Linked DNA regions of Homo sapiens: all the other regions are linked to region 1. Evidence: promoter capture Hi-C in 16 types of primary human blood cells and fetal thymus (Javierre and others, 2016). All regions are on one chromosome and are shown on one strand. The core of a region is centred on a gene start or on the middle of the fragment in contact, and the rest is flanking DNA. Distances in the headings are between cores, read along the strand shown. Region 1 holds the start of TTC33 (tetratricopeptide repeat domain 33). Region 2 has its middle 120 kb from the start of LINC00603. Region 3 has its middle 98 kb from the start of LINC00603. Region 4 has its middle 44 kb from the start of LINC00603.

Region 1 (2,896 bases), core at 217-2,716:
AAGTATTTACTTCAGTTTATAATGCCATCTCACAGTAGCTCTTCTTTGATACGTCATACTTCAATATGCAGCAGAAGTACTTTGTGAGGACTTCCAAGTTTTTACAAAGAATATTAAGTGTCGGAGTGGTTATAATAAAGTAACTTTTACAACTTCATCAGGGATATTCTCTGGTGACAGCGTTCATTTTTCCATTTTTTTTTTTTTTTTTGAGACCGTGCCTTGCTCTGTCATCCAGGCTGGAATGCAGTGGCATGACCTCGGCTCACTGCAGCCTCGACCTCCCAGGCTCAAGGGATCCTCCCACCCCAGCCTCCCGAGTAGTTGGGATTCAGGTGCGTGCCGCCAGGCCTGGCTAATTTTTGTATTTTTGGTAGAGATGGGGTTTCGCCATGTTGGCCAGGCTGGTCTCGAACTCCTGACCTCCCAAAGTGCTAAGATTACAGGCGTGAACCACCGCGCCCGGCCCATTTTTCTTACTGTGAGCGTGTGGTGGTGAAGAGCTCCAGTACGGTTTGGTGTCATTACTGTAATTCCTGTGGAGGGGCCAGCACCTTGACCTACCATTGCTTTTCCACCATCAGTGCAAATGTCAGCATTGTGCAAAGGGCAAATCACGTCTTCATATTAGTATGAAAATAATTTTGGCTTTGAAAGGGTGTCATTGACCCTCAGGACAATCGTTGGTCGACATCAGTGGTTCTCAACGGGGCAGGGTGGGAGGGATAGTTTTTCTTCCAGGGGAAATTTCACTGGGGAAACCATTGGCTGTCACAATCGACTGGTGGTGACATCCCGTGGACAGAGACCAGAGATGCTGCTAAGCACCCTACAATGCACAGAACACCCCGTCCCCCAACAAAGCATTATCCAGTTTGAAATGTTAATGGTGCTGAGGCTGAGAAAGTATGACTTCCAAAAATGAGTCTTTTGGGCAGGAGAGTTGGAGAAATTAACAATCTTGATTACCTTTATTACATGTGCTCGTTTATTTTCAAGACATGATGCACAGCTACGTTCTGGCTGTAATTCTGCCTTCTGGGTCCAACTCACTTGTAACTTTAACGTGAAGCCTGCAGTTCAGCCTCGAGCCTCCCTGACTAGCCTCCCCGCCCGGCCGCCTCGAGCCCTTTATAACCGAATTTTGCCTCTCTGTTCTCTGCGTCTGGCCGACCTCATCAGCTAGGCTATAAACCCCTTCGGGGAAGGAGCATATCCTAATCCTTTGAATCCCGTAAAATAAGTTTTCCCCTCACCTTGTTCCCCACTGACGGGACGCGAGGCTGCGCGGTACCGCGGGGGCGGCTCCTCTCGGTGCGCTCTTCAGCCCGCGCAGCCTCATTTTCCCGCGCTCGTGCGCTGCGGTCACTCAGGGCTGCTGCTAGAGGGCGCGCCCAGCCGCGTGGCCCTGACTACTACAAATCCCAGAAGGTCATGCAGTGGGGGCGGCCGCGGTGACTTCTGGGATTTGTGGTCCCGGAGAAGAGATTGGCGGAGGGGAAAGACTGAGTCGTCTTTCCTTTGCCCGCTTCTGTGGACTGTTCGAACGCCCAGGGGTGGGCCAAACCCGTTTCTTAGGAAACCAGGAATCCAGGGAAGGCAGGTAGGAATTTGGGCGTGATAATTTCTGCTTCCAGTGGGAAAGAATGTAAACACGGGGCCTTGGGAGCCGTTATCGGGTAACTGGGGCTGCCCGGTCGGCGGTGGAAGCTGAGGAAGAGGAGGAAAAAGAGGCGAGTGGGTGTTGTGATTAGGGGAGAAAGGACCTTCGGAATAGGAGTTGAAACCCGACGGGATCCGGCAGAGCCTGGTCGCTAGGGTTGGTCTCCAGGGACAAGCGAGTCTGAGGGTCGGGCCCGCCGTGGCACCTTCGCGGAGCTGCGCGGCCGCAACCTTCCCTGAGCGGTGGGACGGGCGGGACGAGCCGGCCGCTCCCCGCTGGAGAGGTGTCTGCGGCCCGGGGCGGTCCGTGAACGCGCAGGTGACGTCCGGGGCAGCCTTTCTGAGCGTTTTTATTATTGTTGACCGATGAAGGGAAAGTCACTAATACTGGTTTTTCTCTTGCGGTGGCGTTTTTGGGTAAATCGTTTCTTGGATTCCTCACCTCTGAATACCTCCTTTTACCCAGAAGGATGCTGTTGTGATTTCCTGATCTTGTTCATGTAGTGGTTTTTCCCTTTGGGTGCTGCATCCTCAGACACACTCAAGACAAGCCCTCTCTGGCGGCTGGGTAAATGTGAAGCCGTCGCCAGTTGTTGAGCGCCTACTATAGGGATCTTTGTAACAGTACAGGAATTTAGAATACAGCGTCGTTGTTTAGAATCGTTATGCCATTCCTGAAATATAATCCTATATAAAAGGTTGAATTTGTCTGGTTTCATGAGTTTAACATGAAACCGGTGTGGATTGTGGTTTACTCTCATGGTTTCTTACTCTGGTAAAAAAATGTTAAGTCTAGGATGTTGAAGCCTCGTGCTTCTAACTAGACTCAGGAAAGCCTCCTTCATAAGAAGTTTTAATTTCATGTTCAGATAGTCATAGAGGAACAATAAACTCGTTCGGCTTAAGATATCTGAAACAACTGGGAATGTTAAATTTTCTAATGCAGAAAGTGCTTTGCATGCTCTAGGATTCACATACCTTTTTAAGCCTGGCTAAGTTTTCTTCAAAGCTTAAGTCCTCCAGAAAGCCTCAAGTGTCTCTTCTCTGATGTCATGGCATCCTTTGTTTACTCTCTTGTAGCACATATCGTGTATGAAATTGACTGTACTCTGTGGTTTCCAGACACTTTTGAAGAAAATATAAAACTTTGCTAATGGCCTTGATAACAGATTCATGCTTTTACACAGTAGTGGGCCCTTGATACTACTGTTTGGTATCTCTATTTTTCCTTTGT
Region 2 (2,896 bases), core at 206-2,705, 820 kb after region 1:
GTTCCTTCACATCCTCTTTCACTTGATATGGCCAGTCTACTTAATTAAAGCCATTCTAATAGATGTGTAATCATATCTCATTGTGGTTTTAATTTTCATTTCCTTAATGACTAATGATGTTGCACATCTTATCACATGAATATTTGCCATCTATATTTCTTCTTCTTGAATTATCTGTTTAACTATGTCACCCATTTTATTTATTGGATCATTTGTTTTTTTCTTATTGAGGGTTGAACATTCTTTATATATGCAGTATAAAAGTTTTTGTCAGATATATAATTTGCAAATATTTTCTTCAAGTCTATGAATTGTCTTTTTATTTTATAAGCAATGTCTTAAACAACAGATGTTTTTAATTTTGATGAAATTCAATTTATCATTTTAAAAAGTTTTATGGATCATGGTGTTAGCATTGTAGCTAAGAAATTTTTGCCTAATTTGTTTTTGGTAATGTAAAATGGTACAATCAGTTTAGAAAATCAACTGACAAAATGTTGGAAGTATATTTTCTTCCCATCCCATTCCAACATATTTGGTCACTTTTTTATAATGTAAAAAAAAAAAATAAAATGTAAAAATAGTATTTGGTCATTATAAAAAAGTGACCAAATATTTATATAATGAATGAAAAATAAAGTGACCATATATTTTTATAATGACCAAATATTTGTTATATTTGGTGGTCACTATTTTATAAAGTAAAAAATATCATCCAACTGGATGATAATGTCAAAATATTTATGACGCATGCATGAAAGAAGCCAGACCAAAAAAAAGAGCGCTTATTGTATGATCTCATATATATAAAAATTCCATATAATGGAAACTAATCTTAATAGCAGAAAGACCAAGGGTTTCTTGGGGACAGGGGCTTGGGCACAAAATGAACAGGGACATGTATTCCAAAGGGGCATAACAAGTATTTTGGAAGAAAATAAATGTTTATTTTGATTGTGATGATGCTTTCATGGATGTATTCATAGGTCAAAAGTTTTATAAGTCCAGTTTGTTGTTTCTCACTTAAACCTCAGTAAAGCTGTTAAATAGTATTTCTACACTCCAATATCACAAATATACCAACTGAATTAAAAGAAATACTGCTTGTTTTTGTGATACGATCAAGTCATTCACTCACAAAACATTGCTGGTTTCATGGAGTTGTCCAGTAGTATTCCACTCAAGCTGAGTGAAATTATCAACTGAGAATTGATAATGAAGTTCTTGAGAAAGTGGTGACTAATTGTGAAATATGCACCCTTCTGCCTTAAACTCTCACATGCTAAGATATGAGTTGCTGCCTCCAACAGAAAATGTTTTTCCCTAGTTTCTACAAGCACTTCCAGGAAACAATTTTAAAGACACTTTTTTTTTCTTTTTCTTTGTAAAAATCTGTTTTTTATGCATTTGAAAAATCATTTTTTTCTTACTATGTTTTGTTTTTGAATAAAATATTTTCCCCAGAAGTGTCTTACCAAAATTATGTATTGGAAACACTAAAAAATGCCTTCACATCTACAATCTAAAACATATTTTATCATTTCACAACTCTTTTGGCTCCTTTGGTTTCTTGAATATAGTTTTTGTAAAAGGAACACAATTTACTTCATTTTTAACATTTAACATCGAAAACCATTTTTAAAAGATTTATAATTGTTTTTTCTTTTTGATCTGGTTGTATAATTAGAATAATTAACCTGACAAAATGTAGCTTTGCACTGTGGATTTAAATTCATTTTGTATTTAAGTGATGAAAAAATATGTTATTTCCCAGATTAAAACTATTTTTTAAGATAAACAATTCTCCAGCTAGTCCCAAAGAACTGAAATGAGGAGGCATAAAACTGAGGAAATTAGCTCCTCGAATTTCCCCTCTCATCTCCACCCTTACATCAAGTTTCAACTCCAAGGGGGAAGATTTATAGAACAGATGTGGGGTTTTTCCTCCCTAGAGTTTCAGTCCCTCAAAGAAATCTAGGGTTTCATTAGAGCTATATTCCATAGAGCAGGGGAGTAATGTGGTGAAGGTAGGATGACTATGCCTTCATTTGTTTAGGACACTTTTGTTTTTCTGTGTTTTTTTTTGGCGTATTTATCAATAGCTGTCCCATTTGCTCTTAAAATTATCCTGGTTTGAATGATGTGTAATCCCAGATCTCCTTCACTGAGCTCATGTATCCATCCCATAATAGTTGCTAGCATTGGTTGCTGAAAACCCACAGCTGATCCTTCTCAGGTGAGTTGATCTCAGCTCACATCCAACATTATATAGGAGGTTAGAGTTCCTCTCCCTACTCTCCACCCACAAGCAGCTACAGATAGAGAACTGACTAATGGAGAGAAGGGATCCAAAAAGCTGGCTCCTTTACTCATGGTGGAACCACCTTTATGATGCTATTTGTGCTCCAAAGCTCCCCATGGATTCAGGCTAAAGCTAGTTTCTAGCTGAGATCACTTTCCTGCTTGGGTTTTTATTTTTGTTTTTCTTTTTTGTTTTTTCTGTTCCTTTACCTTATTCTGCTTCGCTCACTACCCTTTTTTCTGATAATTCTTTTTTTCTCTGAGAATTCTTGATCAATACATTTTTAACACAGGAATCTCAGGCTGTGTTCCTAGAAAATCTGACCAAGATAGTACTGGAATCGGTCCCAGGAAGCAGTCTTTAAAGATGTGACTTGAGTTGGATACCTCACTTGAAGAGGGGCAAGGAGAGCCCAATCACCAGTGGTAGAAGTGTTGCTGGTCCCCCGCTTCCTTTGACTGTGTCACTGCTGATACCTTCTTCTAGGGCGAACTTAGAAAAGACATAGGTGGAAGGGGATAGACTAGCATGTCAATGCCTGTGGTATTTGAGAGGTATGGGAAAAAGAGTAAATATATGTACTATTGAAATTAG
Region 3 (2,896 bases), core at 120-2,619, 800 kb after region 1:
TTCTCTAATGATCAGTAACGTTCAGCTTTGTTCCATATGTTTGTTGGCTGCATAAATGTCTTCTTTTGAAAAGTGTTCGTTCATGTCTTTTGGCTACTTTTTAATGGTGTTGTTTTTTTTCTTGTAAATTTTTTAAGTTCCTTGTAGATTGTCAGATAAACACATTGCAGAAATTTTTCCCCCATTGCATAGGTTGTCTGTTCACTCTGATGATCATTTCCTTTGCTGGCAGAAGCTTTTTAGTTTAATTAGATCCCATTTGTCAATTTTTGCTTTTGTTGCAATTGCTTTTGCCATTTTCATCAAGAAGTCTTTGCCCATGCCTATGTCCTGAATGGTATTGCCTAGACTTTCTTCTAGGGTTTTTATAGTTTGAGGTTTTACATTTAAGTCTTTAATCTATCTTGAGTTAATTTTTGTATAAGGAGTAAGGAAGGGTTCCAGTTTCAATTTTCTGCATATGGCTAGCAAGTTCTTCCAGCACCGTTTATTAAATAGGGAATCTTTTACCCATTGCTTGTTTTTGTCAAGTTTGTCAAAGATCAGATGGTTGTAGACATGTGGTCTTATTTCTGAGCTCTCTTCTCTGTTTTATTGGTCTATGTGTCTGTTTTTGTACCACTACCATGCTGTTTTGGTTACTGTAAACTTGTAGTATAGTGTGAAGTTGAGTAGCATGATGCCTCCAGCTTTGTTCTTTTTGCTTAAAATTGGCTTGGCTATACGGGCTCCATTTTTGGTTCCATATGAATTTTAAAGTAATTTTGTGAAGAATATTAATGGTAGTTTAATAGAAATAGCATTGAATCTATAAATTACTTTGGGCAGTATGGCCATTTTCATGATATTAATTCTTCCTATCCATGAGCATGGAACGTTTTCCATTTGTTTCTGTCCTCTTTGATTTCCTTGAGCAGTGGTTTGTAGTTCTCCTTGAAGAGGTCCTTCACTTCCCTTGTTACCGATATTCCTTGGTATTTTACTCTCTTTGTAGCAATTGTGAATGAGGGTTCATTCATAATTTAGTTCTCTGTTTGTCTATTGTTGGTCTATAGGAATGCTTCTGACTTTTGTGCATTGATTTTGTATCCTGAGACTTTGCTGAAGTTGCTTATCAGTTTAAGAAGCTTTTGGGCTGAGACGATGTGGTTTTCTAGATATAGGATCATGTGTCATCTGGAAACAGAGACAGTTTGACTTCTTCTCTTCCTAATTGAATATCCTTTATTTCTTTCTCTTACCTGATTGCCCTAGCCAGAAGTACCAATACTATGTTGAATAGAACGGTGAGAGTGGGCATACTTGTCTTGTGCCAGTTTTCAAGGGAATGCTTCCAGCATTTGCCCATTCAATATCATATTGGCTGTGGGTCTGTCATAACTGGCTCTTATTATTTTGAGGTATGTTCCATCAATACCTAGTTTATTGAGAGTTTTTAACATGAAGCAATGTTGAATTATATCGAAGGCCTTTTCTGCATCTACTGAGACAATCATGTGGTTTTTGTCCTTAGTTCTGTTGATGTAATGAATTATGTTATTAATTTGTGTATGCTGAACCAACCTTGCATCCTGGGGATGAAGCGAACTTGATTGTGGTGGACAAGCTTTTTGATATGCTGCTGGATTCAGTTTGCCAGTATTTTTTTTTTTTGAGAATTTTTGCATTGATGTTCATCAAGGATATTGGCCTAAAATTTCCTTTTTTTCTTGTATCTCTGCCAGGTTTTGGTATCAGGATGTTGCTGGCCTCATAAAATGAGTTAGAGAGGAGTCTTTCCTTTACAATTATTTGGAATAGTTTCAAAAGAAATGATACCAGCTCTTCTTTGTACCTCTGGTAGAATTCAGCTGCAAATCCATCTGGCCCTGGACTTTATTTGGTTGGTAGGTTATTTATTACTGCCTCATCTTCAGAACTTCTTACTGGTCTTTTCAGGGATTCAACTTCTTCCTGGTTCAGTCTTGGGAGGATATATACATCAGGGAATTTATCCATTTATGCTAGACTTTCTAGTTTATTTTTATAGAGGTGTTTACAATATTCTCTAATGATCACTTGTGTTTCTGTGAGGTCAGTGGTAATATCCCCTTTATCATTTTTATTGTATCTATTTGATTATTCTGTTTTCTTTTTTATTGTGTAGGTAGCAGTCTATCTATTTTAGTAAATTTTTTTTTCAAAAAACCAGCTCCTGGATTCCTTGATTTTTTGAAGGGTCTTTCATGTCTCTATCTCCTTCAGTTTCACTCTGACCTTACTTAATTCTCGTCTTCTGCTAGCTTTAGGGTTTGTTTGCTCTTGGTTCTCTAGTTCTTTTAGTTGTGATGTTAGGGTGTCAATTTGAGACCTTTATAGCTTTTCAATATGAACATTGAGTGCTGTAAATTTCCCTCTTAAGGCTGCTTTAGTTCCATCCAAGACATTCTGGTACATTGTATCTTTGTTCTCATTGGTTTCAAAGAACTTCTTGATTTCTGCCTTAATTTCATTATTTACCCAGGAGTCATTCAGCTGCAAGTTGTTCAATTTCCATGTAGTTGTGTGGATTTGAGTGAGTTTCTTAATCTTGAGTTCAAATTTGATTGCACTGTGCTCCGAGAGACTGTTTCTTTTGCATTTGCTGAGGAGTGATTTACCTTGAGTTATGTGATCAATTTTAGAGTAAGTGTCATGTGGCACCAAGAAGAATGTATATTCTGTTGTTTTTGGGTAAAGAGTTCTGTAGTTACCTATCAGGTCCACTTGATCCAGAGCTGAGTTCAATCCTGAATATCTTTGTTAATTTTCTGTCTCCATGATCTTTCTAATATTGACAGTGGGTGGTAACATCTCCCACTACTATTGTGTGGGGGTCTAAGTCTCTTTTAACATCTCTAAGAACTTGTTTTATGAA
Region 4 (2,896 bases), core at 266-2,765, 750 kb after region 1:
ATTTAAAGTGATTTAGATAAAGAAATGGGAATTTCATTAATATATGAGTTTATGGTTTACAACTTCAACAATTGCAAGAATTAATTCATGTACTTGAACTGGCCAATGACAAGCAACCAATTACCATTTTTGTCTCCTGTGGCAATCTTTTCACATCTGAGTGAAAATTAGGAATTGCAACTGAGCAATTAACTTCTCTATTATAAAAAGAGAAAACTGCATTGATATTTTAGGTTTCAGTGTCATTATGAAATGTATCACAGAATGAGGTCAAAGTATTAATGTCCATTTGATAAATTCCCTTTCCATTTTTTACTATATAATTTGCAATATTTGTAATAAAAATAGTACTTTCTATCATTTCCCATTCCTTCACCCCCTCATGCAAAGTAATATTTTTTAGACTTCCTAAAGCCTTTCTACATTGAGGCGTGTCAAACTGTAATTCTTACAAGTGTGAATAAAATGTGACAAGTAAGAGGATTACCTGGGAGTTTTATATTTGATATTTTAGTCATCAACTTTTATGTTAAAATGGCATATTTCTAAAAACTATAAATGCATGAAACCTGCAAATATTTATGTTTTATATCTCAAAGTTGGAGCTCATTGTAGTAGTGAAATAAACACTGAATAAAGAGTCAGAAGACTTGGATCCATGTCCTGGTTTCCCCAGTTCCCAATCAATATGATCTTAAGTATATTTTCTTTAAGCTTCATTTTCTGCATCTATTCAATGAAAATTCAATAACTGTCTTACTACCCTCAGCAGTTATTGTGAGAATCAAAGAAGATAATGGATATAAAAAATATTCTGTAATTAGTGAAGTATTCTATAGATTTGGGTTGTTATTATCTATTCCAAATTTTCTCTTTATAGATGAGGAAACAAAAGCCCTTATTTTTTAGTCACCCAAGAAAGAAAACTTGAGAAAATATGGCAGAATAGAAAATTTCTATCATCATCTTCACCGAGAAACATCAATTTTGACGACTACCCATGGATAAAAGTACCATTGTGGGAGTTCAGGGTTTTAGCAGAAATTTTCCAGCAGAGTGTTGGAGCAAAAATTTAACAACAGACACACTAAACAGAGTAACAACAGTTTTACTTTACTCACATCACCATTCTCCCAAGGTGGCACAACTCAGCACCAAGAGAAACTCATTCAGCTCCCCTAGCCATGTGGGACATTGCCCAAGAGGCCGACTTTTTTTTGCATGTCACCCAGAATATTTAGGTGATTGGCACAGCTACGTGGTTGGAAGAGGCTGAAAGCAAGGATGATGGGTCATAGACCCTCCTAACTGTCTATGGAACCCATTAGAAAGCTCACTCATAAGCTGCTTGAGATGTCTCATCTATGGATTCCCAAAAACTGGACCAGAAGCATTTCAAGTGCACTATGCACCTCAGCCTTTCTCCCCAGGCTAGCTCCCTGAGTGTACTGCTGTAGACAACAAATACAAGTATCTCACACAAGCAGACAACTCAGCTGTGAGGGATTGGGAGAAAGCACACAAACTTGAGCATTTCTGAGAACTTCTCTAAATAGAACAACTGGTTAAGGCTATCACCACACAGCTTGGCTTCAAATAATTGAGAAAAGGCATACAATTTTTAGAATGCCCCCCAGGAGAAAACAAAAGGTGTGGAATGAGCACATATATAGAAAAGGTCTGAAGAGCCTCAGAATCCCTAGCTAGGAAAACTGATGAAGGAATTTTTCTTCCAAAGCCACTTAATAAACACCGGAGAAGGTGACTGCATCTTCAAATATTCAAACACTTACACAAAGATACAAAAAAATGAAAAAACAAAAACCAAAGAACCATGATACCACCAAAGGAACACAACAATGTTACAGTACCAACCCCAGAGAAAAGAAGATCTACAAATTGCCTGGCAAGGGATTCAAAATAATTTTATTAAGGAAGCTCAACAATCTACCAGGGAACAAATAGACAATTCAAAAATATTAGACAAAACATGATCAGTAAGAGAATTTCAATAAAGGGATAGAAATAATTGAAAAAGAACCAAATGGAAATTCAGGAGCTGAAGAAAACAATGAAATTAAATAAAAATGCATTAGAGAGTATCAGTAGCACAACTAATCAACAGCAGAAAAAAAATCTGTGAACTTAAAAAATGGGTAATTTGAAAATATCTAGTCAGAGAATAAAAAAGAACAGAAAACCCAAAAAGTAATGAAGAAAGCCTATGGAATTTATGGGACAGCATCAAGAGAGGTAACTTTTGAATTATGGAATTTTACCAAGGAGGAGAAAGAAAGAGAGGTCCAGAAAGCTTACTGAAAGTAATAATAGCTGAAATCTTTCTAAATCTTGAGAGCTATATTGACATTCATGTACATAGAGCTTAAACATTTTCAAATCGTTTCAACCCAAAAAAGACTTCACTGAGCCACATTATAATCAAACTGTTAAACATCAAAGGCAAAGAAGTTTGAAAGCAGCAAAAGCAAAGAGGGTGATCATATACAAGTGAACTCCCGTAAGGATATCAGTAATTTCTCAGCAGAGACCTTGTAGACCAGACAAGAGTGGGATAATATAATTAAAATGCTGAAAGAGAAAACAACTGGCAGCCAAGAATACTTCATCCAGTAAAACTATCCTTCATAAATAAAGGCACAATAAAGACTTTTCCAAACAAACAAAAGCTGAGAGAGTTCATTACCACTATAGCTAACTTACAAGAAATACCAAAAGGAATTCTTCAAGCTGACATAAAAGGATACTAATTAGTAACATAAAATTATATGAAGGCATAAAATTCACTGGTAAGGTAAGTACACAGTCAAATTCAGAATATTCCTACTATAATGGCGGTGTGTAAGTCACTTATAATTCTAGTATAGAGGTAAAGGAC

What was found. The method cuts DNA at HindIII sites, captures the fragments that hold promoters and counts their contacts. A CHiCAGO score of 5 or more calls a contact.
Region 2: a fragment that was not itself captured here is called in contact with the fragment with the promoter of TTC33 in region 1 in 7 of 17 cell types (activated CD4 T cells, total CD4 T cells, naive B cells and 4 more); the score reaches 9.5 in activated CD4 T cells.
Region 3: a contact is called between a fragment that was not itself captured here and the fragment with the promoter of TTC33 in region 1, in 2 of 17 cell types (fetal thymus and total CD4 T cells). The highest score is 5.4, in fetal thymus.
Region 4: a contact is called between a fragment that was not itself captured here and the fragment with the promoter of TTC33 in region 1, in 2 of 17 cell types (total B cells and naive B cells). The highest score is 7.7, in total B cells.

The regions. Positions count from the first base shown.
Region 1 is chr5:40,754,531-40,757,426 of GRCh38, reverse strand. It overlaps TTC33 (tetratricopeptide repeat domain 33), which reads left to right and starts at 1,466. Exons shown (of 5, transcript NM_012382.3): 1 at 1,466-1,603. RefSeq lists an enhancer at 1,443-1,592. The HindIII fragment of the contact is 9,414 bases long and covers 1-2,673 here.
Region 2 is chr5:39,931,608-39,934,503 of GRCh38, reverse strand. No RefSeq gene overlaps it. Among named protein-coding and RNA genes, the nearest start is that of LINC00603, 120 kb to the left of the region's middle. The HindIII fragment of the contact is 3,174 bases long and covers 1-2,896 here.
Region 3 is chr5:39,952,513-39,955,408 of GRCh38, reverse strand. No RefSeq gene overlaps it. Among named protein-coding and RNA genes, the nearest start is that of LINC00603, 98 kb to the left of the region's middle. The HindIII fragment of the contact is 479 bases long and covers 1,130-1,608 here.
Region 4 is chr5:40,007,340-40,010,235 of GRCh38, reverse strand. No RefSeq gene overlaps it. Among named protein-coding and RNA genes, the nearest start is that of LINC00603, 44 kb to the left of the region's middle. The HindIII fragment of the contact is 1,597 bases long and covers 717-2,313 here.